5 separate regions of the Homo sapiens genome follow, and all the other regions are linked to region 3. The links are contacts of gene promoters, found by promoter capture Hi-C in human tissues and cell types (Jung and others, 2019). All regions are on one chromosome and are shown on one strand. The core of a region is centred on a gene start or on the middle of the fragment in contact, and the rest is flanking DNA. Distances in the headings are between cores, read along the strand shown. Region 1 has its middle 310 kb from the start of MIR3688-1. Region 2 overlaps RAPGEF2 (Rap guanine nucleotide exchange factor 2). Region 3 holds the start of C4orf46 (chromosome 4 open reading frame 46). Region 4 has its middle 270 kb from the start of MIR3688-1. Region 5 overlaps RAPGEF2 (Rap guanine nucleotide exchange factor 2).

Evidence for each region. Contacts are between HindIII fragments. The study calls those that stand out against the background at their distance.
Region 1: a contact is called between a fragment that was not itself captured here and the fragment with the promoter of C4orf46 in region 3, in 1 of the 25 tissues and cell types used here (lymphoblastoid cells).
Region 2: a fragment that was not itself captured here is called in contact with the fragment with the promoter of C4orf46 in region 3 in 1 of the 25 tissues and cell types used here (aorta).
Region 4: a contact is called between a fragment that was not itself captured here and the fragment with the promoter of C4orf46 in region 3, in 1 of the 25 tissues and cell types used here (lymphoblastoid cells).
Region 5: a contact is called between a fragment that was not itself captured here and the fragment with the promoter of C4orf46 in region 3, in 1 of the 25 tissues and cell types used here (lymphoblastoid cells).

The regions. Positions count from the first base shown.
Region 1 is chr4:159,440,530-159,443,229 of GRCh38, reverse strand. No RefSeq gene overlaps it. Among named protein-coding and RNA genes, the nearest start is that of MIR3688-1, 310 kb to the right of the region's middle. The HindIII fragment of the contact is 3,628 bases long and covers 1-2,700 here.
Region 2 is chr4:159,199,635-159,202,334 of GRCh38, reverse strand. All of the region lies in intron 3 of RAPGEF2 (Rap guanine nucleotide exchange factor 2), which reads right to left. Among named protein-coding and RNA genes, the nearest start is that of MIR3688-1, 72 kb to the right of the region's middle. The HindIII fragment of the contact is 4,702 bases long and covers 1-2,700 here.
Region 3 is chr4:158,670,499-158,673,198 of GRCh38, reverse strand. C4orf46 (chromosome 4 open reading frame 46) reads left to right here and starts at 1,312. Exons shown (of 2, transcript NM_001008393.4): 1 at 1,312-1,583. The coding sequence starts at 1,398. It overlaps ETFDH (electron transfer flavoprotein dehydrogenase), which reads right to left and starts at 903. Exons shown (of 13, transcript NM_004453.4): 1 at 709-903. The coding sequence starts at 742. RefSeq lists enhancers at 555-1,056, 658-1,217, 1,060-1,696, 1,697-2,333 and a silencer at 1,638-1,707. The HindIII fragment of the contact is 11,975 bases long and covers 1-2,700 here.
Region 4 is chr4:159,402,517-159,405,255 of GRCh38, reverse strand. No RefSeq gene overlaps it. Among named protein-coding and RNA genes, the nearest start is that of MIR3688-1, 270 kb to the right of the region's middle. RefSeq lists an enhancer at 2,734-2,739. The HindIII fragment of the contact is 5,698 bases long and covers 1-2,739 here.
Region 5 is chr4:159,234,954-159,237,653 of GRCh38, reverse strand. The region is part of intron 4 of RAPGEF2 (Rap guanine nucleotide exchange factor 2); the gene reads right to left. Among named protein-coding and RNA genes, the nearest start is that of MIR3688-1, 110 kb to the right of the region's middle. The HindIII fragment of the contact is 3,683 bases long and covers 1-2,700 here.

The DNA.
Region 1 (2,700 bases), core at 161-2,660, 770 kb before region 3:
GTCTGAGCCCCTGATCTGCTGATGGTTCCCAGTTGTAATAGTCTATACTAACACTAAGATACCCCATTATTATTGCAGAAATTCAACCACAAATGGTATGATGAGGTTGGAGTAATGCCAAAACTATCCTCAGGCTTCTGACACAAAGCCACAAAGAGCGACAGTACCTTAGTACATTAACAAAAATACAGAGTTCACTCTTACAAAGACCTACAAGTTTGACTTTCCCAAGTCTCATGATTGGCCAAGTTCAAAGATACCAACTGATAGTAACAAAGCTTTCAAAATCCTCATGTGTAAGCCAGCGTGTCAATTTATAAACTTTCAGCAAGAAATATATTTAGTTAGGGGTTTAGCACTTCATATTATCTAGCCAGCATATTTTGTTCCTATAGCCAAACTTCTCAGGTTACCAGGTCTCACTGGTTTACATGTGAGTTAGTTAACAGATCTAAATGTTAAACTATCAGGCTCTCAAAACATGATGCAATCCTCTCAAGAAAAGGTATATTATCTGCTCAAAGAACTGACAAGTCATTGGGTCAAGATGTTCTCTACCCAGAGTGCACCTATGTGGTCGTTGCCAACATTTGCCCCTAAAACAGGCTGATCTGTTTTTGTTTTTGATGTTTCTATGGATGACCAATTTCTCCCACTTCATTAATTAACATAGTATTTTGTAGGGGAAAGAAAAGAAATATGCCAATAATTTTAGTCAAGACTTGATCTGGACTATAAGATTATATTATGTATATTTATGCTGATGATTCTTGAATAGTTATGTATTTAATTCTTTCAGAGTAGTCTTATTGTCCTTAGTTCTATATTCTTGAAGGACATTATGTTATACCCCTAGGAAGTACCTACATTCTCTTTTGGACTTAATGATGATAGCTGGGCCCCTGGACTAAATATTTATTATAGATTCTATATGATACCGTGCTTGACCAATCAAGCTGTACATGTGCCTATCTGTCTAGTTCCATTCCTGTGCCTTCCCAGTACAATCTACATCCTAAACTCTGTTTCTACTTTCAGATCTTACACACCTTTATTAACGAATATGGCACTTCTGGCCAGGCGTGGTGGCTCATGCCTGTAATCCCAGCACTTTGGGAGGCTGAGGCGGGCAGATCACTTGAGGTCAGGAGTTTGAGACCAGTCTGGCCAACATGGTGAAACCCAGTCTCCACTAAAAGTACAAAAATTGGCAGAGCATGGTGGCAAGTGCCTGTAATCCCAGCTACTCGTGAGGCTGAGGCAGGAGAATTGCTTGAACCTGGGAGGCAGAGGTTGCAGTGAACCAAGATCATGCCCTCACACTCCAGCCTGGACAAAGTAAGACTCCATCTCAAAAAAAAAAAAAAAGGCACTTCCGCTGTGTTATGGGATGAATTGCATCTCCTCACTCCTTCACCATTCATATAGCAAAGTCCTAAGTCCCAGTACCTCAGAATGTGACTATATGTGAGGATGGGGTGTTTACGGAAGTAATTAATGAGTTCACATGGGTAGGCCCTAGTCCAACATGACTGGTGCCCTTATAAGAAGAGACAATTAGAATACAAGCACACACAGAGGGAAGACGATGTGAAGGCAAAGGGAGAAGATGGCCATCTACAAGCCAAGAAGAGAGGCCTCAGAATAAACTAACTCTACCAACATCTTGATCTTGGAATTCTAGCCTCCAGAATTGTGAGAAAATACAGTTATGTTGTTTAAGACACTTAAACAACAGTCTTTGGTACTTTGGTATGGCAGCCTGTGATGGTTAACTTTACGTGTCAATTTGACTGGGCCACAGAGTGCCCACCTGTGGCCCAATTTGGTCAAACATTATTCTGGGTGTTTCTGTGAGGATGTTTTTAAATGAGATTAACATTTAAATCCCTAGACTGAATAAAGCAGATTGCCCTCCTTAACGTGGGTGAGCCTCATCAGATCAGTCAAAGGCCTGAATAGAACAAAAGGCTGACTCTCCATTGAGTAAGAGAGAACTCTTTCTGCCTGGCTGCCTTCCACCTGGGGCATTGACTATTTCCTGCCTTCAAACTTAAACTGCCCGTTGGCTCTTCCTGGATCTCCAACTTGCCTACCACGTTAGTCTGTTTTGTGTTGCTGTAAAGGAATACCTGAGAATGAGTATTTTATAAAGAAAATAGGTTTATTTGGCTCACATTTCTGCAGGCTGTACAAGCATGGCACTAGCATCTGCTTGGCTTCTGGTGAGGCCTTAGGAAGCTTTAACTCATGGCAGAAGGTAGAAGGGAACAGACGTTTCACATAGCAAGAAAAGGGAGCAAGAGAGATGCCACACACTTCTAAACAACCAGCTCTCTCATGAACTAACAACGCAAGAACTCACTCATTACTGTGGGGAGGACACCAAGCCATTCATGAGGGACCTGCCCCCATGACCCAAACAACTCCCATCAGGCCCCACCTCCAACACTGGGGATCACATTTCAACATGAGCTTTGGAGGGGACAAATATCCAAACCATATCACCTACTCACCCTGCAGATCTTGAGGCTGGTCAGCCCCCACAATCACATGAGCCTATTCCTTATAACATATGCATTCTGTTTCTCTAGGGAACCCTTGACATATAGCCCTAACAAACTAATACACACCGTGAGAGGAGTAAAAGCATTATCAACGTTCTCATTCGAAAGCATAATTTTAAAATTTCTTAAAGTT
Region 2 (2,700 bases), core at 98-2,597, 530 kb before region 3:
GACAAAATATGAAACAAGGAGGGTGTATGGGGTACAAGAAGAGACTCCTCCCACTCTAGCAGAGCAAGTGCAATATGGCCAAGCCTGAAGCGGCCCAGGGGAGTGAGGAAGCTCCTCTAAATGCTTCACATGGACAGCATTAACAAGGTCATTAAAACAGAGAAGCAAAAAGATGGCGATTGCTTTGTGAGAAAGAATAGGCAAAATGTCCAGAAACAGTGGCTGAGCCGAGCACACGACACAGCTATCTGAGACAGGTTCGGCACAACTGAGAACCACATATAGCATCAAATACCAATTTTGGTGCTATTTTAGAAAGGTCACTTTATACTATCCAGGATGTAATACCGCACAGTATCACATTCAAAAGACAAAGCTGTTGGCATCTGGAGAAAAGGAGACAGGAATCATCATCGAGGGCTATTGATCACATGCCTATAAAACAAGAAAGTGAAATAAAATGAAGACTAACAAAGGTTCCAATAACTACATGGGGACCACAAGGAACTCCAGAGGGCCAGCCACCCATGACCAAAAAATAGAAAAACACCTTTATTTTCCTGTATCTGCGGTCTCACCAACACCCTCCAACCAAAAGATAAAGGGACAACTTCCGAAGCTTCTCCCTCTTCACAGCCTATCATCACATTCTGCGGGTTCCCCTCCCAAGTCTCTATCGAAACCCTTTGCTACAGTTCAGGGTCCCATTTTTGCTCACCTACACTGCTGTTATTACAGACTTCTGGCCAGCTTAGACTTGTGCTCTCAAATATACGATTATGCCAAAAAACCACAGTGAAAATTACTTATTTACAACAAATTATCCTCTATCCTTTTATAGGCGTCCCGCAGACAGTTGAGATCAGAGGTTTTCAATGTCAAGAGCCCTTGGGATTTCAAGGCGTCCAAACCTCTTTCAACCATAATAGCTACTATTGTTGGGCTGAACAGGATTTTCTATGAACAAAGTGTTCCACGGCTTCAAAAAAATAAGTTCTAACAATGGCCACCTTCCAATAGACAGATGGCTTTCCAGATACACAATAATTTTAATCTTTTTCACAAATACATTACATCATTTCTGTTACTGGATTTATTACAGTTTAAAAATTTGTATATTTTTACTCCTCTGATGGAGCGCTGAGCTATAAGCTGATAGACAAAGTTTTCATTATTTATTTTTGTATAGTCAAATGGCACAAAGCAAGCTCACTAGATAAGTTAATGCAACACAGCACAGTAAGCAACCCCAACAATGATATCAAGCCAAAAGAAATATAAAGTGCATGTACTAAAACATGAAGTATACGCCAAATTTTAGAAGGAGGACTAACAAGAGTTAAGGGCTTTGGTATTTACAATTTCCACTGTTGGAATACTGATATTTTATTATAAAATGATATTATTCATAATACTGAGTTATATGTAAATATATCAATTATATATAAATTCCCACAATAAGAAAACAAATGACATTTTTAAAGTAGAGGGTAATTTTTATTCTATTTCTTAAAAGTTCTAAATTGTAAGGAAATTACTTCATTTATAATTAAAAACTCTGAAGAAAGAAAACACCATTTTAAGATTTTCAAAAAAAATCCTTATTTTCCAAACAATAGCAATTCATTTACAAGGAATTGCAACCAACAAAACAGGAAAAGTCAGTAAGATCAATAAGAACTCTGAAAGCTGATGAAAATATTGAAGACATTTCATCTTTATACTGAAAATACAGGGGACACAGCAGACATCCTTTTTTTTTAACTAGCAAACAATGTAAACTACTAAAGAACCAGTAAAGCCAGATATTCTATAGGCTCATTAATGTTATCATTTTTTTCATTATTTATTATTTTTATTATTGTTTTTGAGACAAAGTCTCACTGTCACCCAGGCCAGAGTGCGGTGGTGCACTCTTGGCTCACTGCAACCTCCGCCTCCCAGGCTCAAGTGACCTTCCCACCTCAGCCTCCTGAGCAGTGCTGGGACCACAGAGGTGCGCCACCACACTGGCTAATTTTTGTATTTTTTTAGAGATAGGGTCGTGCCATTTTGTCCAGGCTGGTCTCGAACTCCTGGGCTCAAGCGATCCACCCACCTCAGCCTCCCAAGGTGCTGGGATTACAGGCATGAGCCACTGTGCCTGGCACAATCTTAAATTTATGAAATTCATTTTTAACATGAAAGGAAGGAGTGAAACACTGGGAGTTATGAAGCTATTCAATAAATGATAAATGAAAGGAAAAACACCAATACAAACTATATATATATATAGAGAGAGAGAGAGATTACATCAAATCGATGAGTCAGCTAAACTGAGGGTAAAGAAATAGATCCAAGGGCTCAAGGAACAATTTATCACATTTAAAAGAATCTGAAATTTTGACTCTTTTGGAAACTACTAATGGGTTATGAAATTAATTTACAAATGTCTCTTTTAGATTCATATGCTGCAATTTTATCTTCACAAGAAACCTGTTTCTCACCTGGAGTCACCTGGGTCTCAGAAAAATGAAAGGTAACTTATACACACCCAGAGACAGAGTCAAATTCAAAGCTAAATCTGCCTAACTTCACTATAGGAGTCCCAACAGCAAGAAACTGCAACAATACTGCAAAACACCTGACAGCACCACTACCCCTCACATCAGAAAGGATATAAAAAGCAAGCTGTATTTTTCTCCTATACCTTACCCTAAA
Region 3 (2,700 bases), core at 63-2,562:
CTGAGTAGCTGGGATTACAGGAGTGGGCCACAACGCCCAGCTAATTTTTGTATTTTTAGTAGAGATGGGGTTTCACAATGTTGGCCAGGCTGGTCTTGAACTCCTGACCTCAGGTGATCCATCCGCCTCAGCCTCCCAGAGTGCTGGGATTACAGGCTTGAGCCACCACGCCCAGCCCTTAATTTTAGACAACGCAGAAAAACTGGCTCCAGATACACTTGGGTGACTTGGTCAACATATGAATGTTAACCATGATGTGACAGATCAGACTTCAATTTCTTTAGACTGAACTAGAATGGCTCCGAAGACGAAAGTCAGGTCAGGACCAGGGAGAAAAACTGGGCAAATACGATTTTTTTTTTTCCATTTCCAACAGAGGTTTGAAGATTAGAACCAGGATTTGGGAAGCCTCAGTTCAGGAGTCCACCGAGGTGTGTGTGTGTTGACAGGTGGTGGTGATGCCGAGGGCGTGTTGACAAGTTTTCCCCGCCCTTGACCTTTAGCCTAGATATTAATTCTACCAACTGGGGCAACCCCAGAGGGAGGAAGCCAGGGTCCCCCAACAGGCTGACAGCGCGTGACCTTTGCCCTAGATAGCCTGAGAAAGCTGATGAGAGAAGGGGCGAGAGGTGCCTACAGCCCCCAGGACCGGCCTTGTCCCTTTTGCCCTAACTCCTCCACTTATCCCCACCGCCCGTTTCCTCTCACCCAGGCAGGACAGCTTGGCTAGCGGCACCAGCATGTTCAAAGTCACCAGGACTCTCGGTCGGACACAACAGGAGGACTGTCCGCTGCTCGCGGCGGGCGCTGGACCTCTAGGCCGCGGGGGGCGCCATCACCTGCCGGAAAGCAAGAACTCTGCTGCAGTTCGCCTCCCCGCTCTGCCGACCGCTCTTGCTTCACGGCGTTCCCACCTCCTTCTCGCTCTGCGCCGGCGCCATGGATGACGCAACGGCCAGCCGAGGCTTCCGGGTCATGTACCAAACCAGGGAAAGATAAGGGACTCCAAGTCCCAGCCGGGGAGCGGTGAAACAGCCACAGCGCGGCCAGAGGGGTCCGCGAATCCCACAGCACGACGCACGCGCAGTGAAAGGCAGTAGAAGGCGGGGCGACGCACACGGCTTCCTGGGAGGTGTAGTTTTCTCTACGAGTGCCCTTCGAGATCGATTGGAGGCTCGCGCAGGAGCCGTGAGTTGCCTAAGGTGAATTGACTCATATGATTGGCTGTCCCGAAAAATGAAACGTCTTTGTGGTCCGGGGCTGAGACCCACGAGGAGACTGGGCGGGATTTCTGGCGTTAGGAGGCGGGGCCTTTCGGCTTTGGGCGCGAGTGGTTAAAAGACAGTTGGTGTCGGTTCGGCTTCTCGGGTCGGATTCCGCGGTCCCAACCCTTCCCCATGGCCGACCCTGAGGAGTTGCAGGTTTCTTCGCCGCCCCCGCCGCCTCCCTCTTCTCCCTCCTCTTCAGACGCCTCTGCAGCATCTTCCCCGGGCGGCCCAGTGAGTTTGGGCTGGCCAGTTCCGAGCAGGAGCAGCGGCCCAACGGTGGACCAGCTGGAGGAAGTGGAGCTGCAGATCGGAGACGTGAGTGTGGTGTCGGGACCGCGTCCCCCCTCGGCGCCTCTGGGAAGACCGGCGGCGGCGGGGCTCGCGAGGCTAGGGAATCGGTCCCCCAACCCCCATGACCCGGGACGACCGGCCCTTCTGCGCCCCAGAGCGTGCGGGCGGGAAGCGGGGGGGATGCCAGCAGCTAAAGTGCCACCCCTCTCTGAGGGTTCCCCCTTTAGATTTAGTGGTGAGGAGTCTTAAGGGGTTTTCCTTCCACCCGCCCCACCCCTCACTGGTTTCTTTTTGTCTCGCCTTCTGGTTTCAATCATCCGCAGTAACCCGAAGCCACGCAGCTCTGCGCTGCCTGTTGCTGGCTCTCTGCCTCCTCCTTTCCCATCGGAGAATAGTTTTCATTGCATGGGTTTCGGAGAATAGTTTTCACTGCATGAGTTTGCTGGCTTTCTGTGGGTACTTGAGATCAGGCTGTGATTTCTTTCCATGGGACTTAGAGCCTGCTGTTCTAGTTGGCCACCTGCCCAGGGACAGCTGATAATGCCATTGTCTGCCCCAGGCCTGCTTAGCGCTGGACCCAGCTTGAAGGGTTTAGGTCACGTGGATTGGCTTCTTTGACGGTTTAGTTCAGGACTCCTCCCTTTGTATGATTGCTAGAATGCATACTTAGGATAGTTTCTGTTAAATCTCGAATCCCCAGAAACTAGCACCCCACCTCCCAACCGTAACTCACACACCACTGGAGGGGAGAAGACAGGGAAGGGGAGTTTTATGTTCTCTTGAGTGGGTCAAGTGGAATGAGGTATGTAGAGTGTAACCTGGGAGAGTTCTGTGGCCTGACCTTTCCTGCAGATTGGAAACTAGGGGATGAACTAGATTATCTCATTGCTCCGCAAGTATTTTTTTTTAAGGATGACTAGAGTGCTTAACCAGCTTTTATTTTTGCAGAACAAACTGATTGCAAGTAAATATGTAGAATGAAGTGCTAATGTGTTATTGAGGAACACTGTTTTATTTTATATCATTGGTGAAGAAAACGTTTGGCTGAAAAGTGAATTTTCCACCAGGAGCTGAGTGTTTTCTGCATTTGTGTGTGATTTTTTAATGTTATTTGTCAGAGCTCAGAGTTTCTGTTCTTTGA
Region 4 (2,739 bases), core at 211-2,710, 730 kb before region 3:
GTGTTCCAAAAGGGAATAAGCAGCTGGATCAAATGCTGCTAAAAGTTCAGTGAAGATGACTGAGAAATGAACATTAGAAGAATCTATGTAGGCCAAGCGCGGTGGCTCACGCCTGTAATTCCAGCACTTTGGGAGGCTGAGGCAAGCGAATCACGAGGTCGGGAATTCAAGACCAGCCCGACCAACATGGAGCAATCCCATCTCTACAAAAAATACAAAATTAGCCAGCCATGGTGGTGCATGCCTGTAATCCCAGCTACTTGGGAGGCTGAGGCAGGAGAATCGCTTCAACCTGAGAGGTAGAGGTTGCAGTGAGCCGAGATCGTGCCATTGCACTCCAGCCTGGGCAACAAGAGAAAAACTCCATCTCAAAAACAACAAAAAAAGAAGAAGAGGCCATGTAGACGTTGTTACTGACATTGACAATAGCTCTGGACTGATGGGCTTGAATATCTGATAGAAAGGGTTCTGGAGAGATGATGCAGTGAAGTGAAGGCAGAGAGCATAGCAAGTCTTCCCAGGAGTTCTGCTACAAAGGGGAGCGGAAGATCCAAGCAGTAATTAGAAGGCAAAGACTGTATCATACTTGCATGCTAATGAGAACAATCCAGTAGGCTAGAGGAAAGATAATAAATGACAGAGAAAGAAGAATTGTAGGAATTGAGAAAGAATAAAATATGGTGCACAGTAGAGAAATTGGCTTTAGGTAAGAGTAGGGTCAATTCACCCATTATATGTGAAAGGAAAACGGAGAATATCCACAGTTGCGTATAAAGTGGACTGACTCAGTGAATGGAAGGAGTAGATGTTTTCTTCTGATTAATTATACTTTTGCAGTTCGATAGAAAGGAAGGTCTCGGCTGAAATTTAATATTGGTGGCCATGAAGGAGGAGAAAAATGAGAGTGTAAGGGGATACCTCGCAAAACTAATAGGCCATGCTAAGGAGCACTCAAGGTTTGATGTTACAAATTTAGACTGAGACTAGTTCAGTTGTTGTTGTTGTTGTTGTCGTCATTTTCTGGCCATGGTAGCTGCTTGGTTATAGATGTTAGGGAAAATTGAATTCAATCAGGTTCAGGGGTTTGCCAGAAGGTCTAAGGAAAGAGGCGGGGATAAAAGGGTCTTAAAGATATATGCAAGGAGTAATTGCAATGATGAACCACAGACTCTAAGATACATAAGTGAAAAGCTGATAGAATCAATTAATTGGAAGTACCAATGGAATCAATAAATTGATGAGTTGGGCATGGTGGCACATGCCTGTAATCCTGGCTACTCAGGAACCTGAGATGGGGGAATTGCTTGAGCCCAGGAGTTCAAGGCTGCAGTGAGCTCTGATCACACTACTGCACTCCAGCCTAAGCAACATAGCAATACCTCGACAACAACAAAAAAAGTGTTGAAATGGGGAGCCTAGAGGAAATAAGCCATAAACATAAGAGATAGAATTCAAAGACTGGGACGCTTGAAATTAAGATTTTGGAGGTTGTGAAACCATAGGCGATGACAAAGATACGACCATTAAAGTAGGTGGCTGAGGATATAATGATGGAGGACATATCATTATAAGTGAGGAAAACAGTGAACAGAGAGGCCAGGGTGTTGATGGACTATCTAGGGGCATGCCAATGACAAGAATGATGCCCAGAGTCAAGATGGTAGGAACAACAGTGAACCGGACACGAAGATCGTCAATAAGAGGGGAAGGAGTAACCAGGAGAATGGTAGAGAATTGCAATGTGAAGAGGTAAAGGCAGGTCTAGTTTGATGGCATGAGTTTCAGAAGATCAAAACTGTTTTAGGAAATACTATGACCAATGGCTTGGAAAGAGCAATGGGGAGCCAGGAGCTACCTGCCCCACCTCTAGGCCTTGTCTGAACAGAGAGCATGAGGAAAGGACCAGCCATGTGTGAGAGGGCTTCTGAAGAAGCTAAGCTTTCAAGGGCAGCCAGACCTCAGTCAGAGCAGCACTATGTTGTTGTTGTTGTTGTTGAGACAGGGTCTTGCTCTGTTGTCACCCAGGCTGGAGTGCAGTGGCACAATAATAGCTCATTGCAGCCACAATCTCCTGGGCTCAAGCAATCCTCCCATCTCAGCCTCCCAAGTAGCTAGGACTACAGAATGGCATGGGCTATTTTTTTGTAGAGACAGTCTCACTTTGTTGCTCCGGCTGGTCTCGAACTCCTAGCCTCAAGCAATCCTCCTGCCTCAACCTCCCAAAGTGCTGAGATTACAGTCATGAGCCATCACACCTGGCCAAAGCAGCACTATCTGATAGCAATATAATGTGAACCACATACATAATTTTAAATTTTCTACTAGCCACATTTCTTTAAATCAAACAGAAATAGGTAAACAATTTAATAACATATTTTACTTAATACAATATAGACAACATATTGTCATGAGAAACCATGGAGACCAAAAGGAAGTGACAACCACATTTTTGAAGGGCTACAAGAAAAGAACTGACAGCATAGAATTTTTTTTTTTTTTTTTTTTTTTTTTTTGAGACGGAGTTTCTCTCTTGTTGCCCAGGCTGGAGTGCAGTGGTGCATTGGGCCTAGTTAATTACTAATCTCAGCTCACTGGAACCTCCGCCTCCTGGGTTCAAGTGATTCTCCTGCCTCAGCCTCCTGAATAGCTGGGATTACAAGTGCCTACCACCAAGCCCGGCTATTTTTTGTATTTTTAGTAGAGATGGGGTTTCGCCATGTTGGCCAGGCTGGTCTCAAA
Region 5 (2,700 bases), core at 89-2,588, 560 kb before region 3:
ACTATTTCATTGAACAATTTTTTTCCAAGTTAATTAGGCACTGTGAGGGACTCCTATGGAAATTCTTGTTCTATTTATAATCCTCTTTATGTCATAGTAATACACATATTTCAAGTATTAGGAGCCAAGTCACGTAAGAGGAAGAAAACAGAAAAGCCAACATTCTCCTTCTATCATCTGCAATCTCTAGCAAACTATCTTGACCACATCATATGATAAATTTTATTTGTTTACAGGTTATCAGGTTAGACTAGGCCATCACTTAAGTCCTTTTCCTTAATAATAATTATCTGATTGTTAAAGATAATTAAGTCCTTTTCCAAAATCATTTCCGGCCACGCGCGATGGCACCTGCTTGTAATCCCAGCATTTTGGAAGCCTGAGGAGGGCTGATCACTTGAGCCCAGGAGTTCGAGACCAGCTTGGGCAACATGGTGAAACCCCGTCTCTACTAAAAATACAAAAATTAGCCAGGCATGGTGGTACAAGCCTGTAGTCCCAGCTACTCAGGAAGTTGAGATGGGAGGATCACTTGAGCATGGGAGGCAGAGGTTGCAGTGAGCCAAGAATGTGCCACTGCACTCTAGCCTGGGCAACAGAGTAAAACCCTGTCTTGAAAAGAAGAAAAAGTTTCCATGAAAATCAAAACCAGCATCATATTTAACATATTTGAAAAAAAATTTTTTGATATTCATATATACATTCACACATATATGCCCACACAAACATACACATTAGAGTACTTTTAAGTGAAAACATTTGCCAGGAACAACATAATAAATCTATCTTCATGTTACTTCTCATGCAATTTAAATGACCTGAATTTTTACACATTTCTTTTAGCTTACAGTTAAATACAACTGAAATTCCATAACTCTTCAATATACACAAAAGTTTGAGTTTCTGAATCTACCTATTTGCAATTTAATTTTTTAAAATGAAGCTTATAATTATACACTGCAAATAAATAATCTCAATGTGTTAGTAAAATATGTGGCAGGTTACAGACTTGGACAAGTTTATAAATATAGTGGTCTAATGTTTATGCGTTTTTAAATGTAACATAGTAAAAAATCATAAATGTTTGTAATGTATACACTGTTCATATAATACTTGATACAAAAACATATGCTAGAATTGTTTACAAATTTTAGCAGCAAAAGATGTTAATGTTCACATAAATAAACTATATAACTGTTATTTATTTTATATATAAATCTAGTACCATCTTCACCACTCCAGGATTTAAGGCGTAAATCCTCTTACCAATTAGTCATTCGTTCAACAGAACTTCATGGCTAGGAAGTCACACTTCAAGTTGCACTAGCACACTATTACTTTGGGGATGAAAAGTTTACATTTCCTAAAATGTGCTACACAAAAACATTTCCATAAGTGTTTTTCAGAGAGTCAGTTGCACTACAGCCTGATGAAACTTTTTCAACCATAAAAAGACTCGAGTTCCATAAACCGTCACAAAGATGTGAACAGGAGAAACTGCAGACTCTCCATCAGATATATTTATTGAATAAGCTGAATGGAAAAAGCAATGTGCACAGAACACACATTAGCAAGGGAGAATATGTTACTTCATTTACTCAACAATCTATTTTTTCAAACACAGCCAGGAATGCAGAAAGGAAGAGCAGCCTCAAAGGAGCCAAAGAGTAGGTCATGAGTGCACACGCTAGGCCTGATCAGTGACAAAGCCTCTGAGCTCTCTCACAGAGATGATGTGCTCTTAGCTCACAAACCAGAAGCTATAAGGTTGGAAGAAACAGACAAAGCAATGGAAAAAAAAATGTTAGCTAGAAATTAAGTCCACAAGTTACTTTTGCTTCTGCTCTCTGATTCTTTGAAACAGTAAATACATAAACAAAAGCAAGTAAATATGATTATTTACTACATTTTCAAAAATCTTTGGCGAAGTTCTACACAAATAAACTGAAAAAATTCAGCTCTGGAAAATAAGGACAGACTTAAAGGCAACAGATAAAGATGTATAGGAGATAAAGTACCTCACAGACAATATAAAGAACAATCCTTTTAAATATTTTAGATTACTTAGTGGAAAAAAATGGTGCAAAATCTTCAGGATTGCAAATAACAAATACACTTTGAGAGAGTGAAACAGAAAACCAGAACAGTAAGAACAAAGTACAAGACATTTTATAAAGAGTGTGAGTGCAGGCAAGCCGTAGAGGATCCAGTGTGCACAATGAAATGCTCTACACTGAAAAAGTGATCAAATGCACAGAGCATTTAACATTATACTCAACAACAGGTTCTCAGCTTTCAGTTAAAAGTTATTAATAAAAACGAAGTCTTTGAATGCATTAGCACAGCAAGATGCTTACACAACAAGTAAAATTATAAACAAAGACAAACTTTGAAATGATGGACACACAAGGAAAGAATCAAAAACAATAATTACAATGCATGCCCTTATAGAAAATCAAATCTATAAAAGGGTATTACCCTGGAAGAGTTTCTAAGGGGAAAAACACAGAACTGAAAAGTTTCTCACAAAAAATTCAGGGAATCCAAAGGGCTTTCCAAAAGACCAGATGTATAGATTAAGATAATTTTTCATAGGCTGGGCACGGTGGCTCATGTCTGTAATTCCAGCACTTTGGAAGGCCGAGGTGGGCAGAACACTTGAGGTTAGGAGTTCGAGACCAGCCTAGCCAACATGGTGAA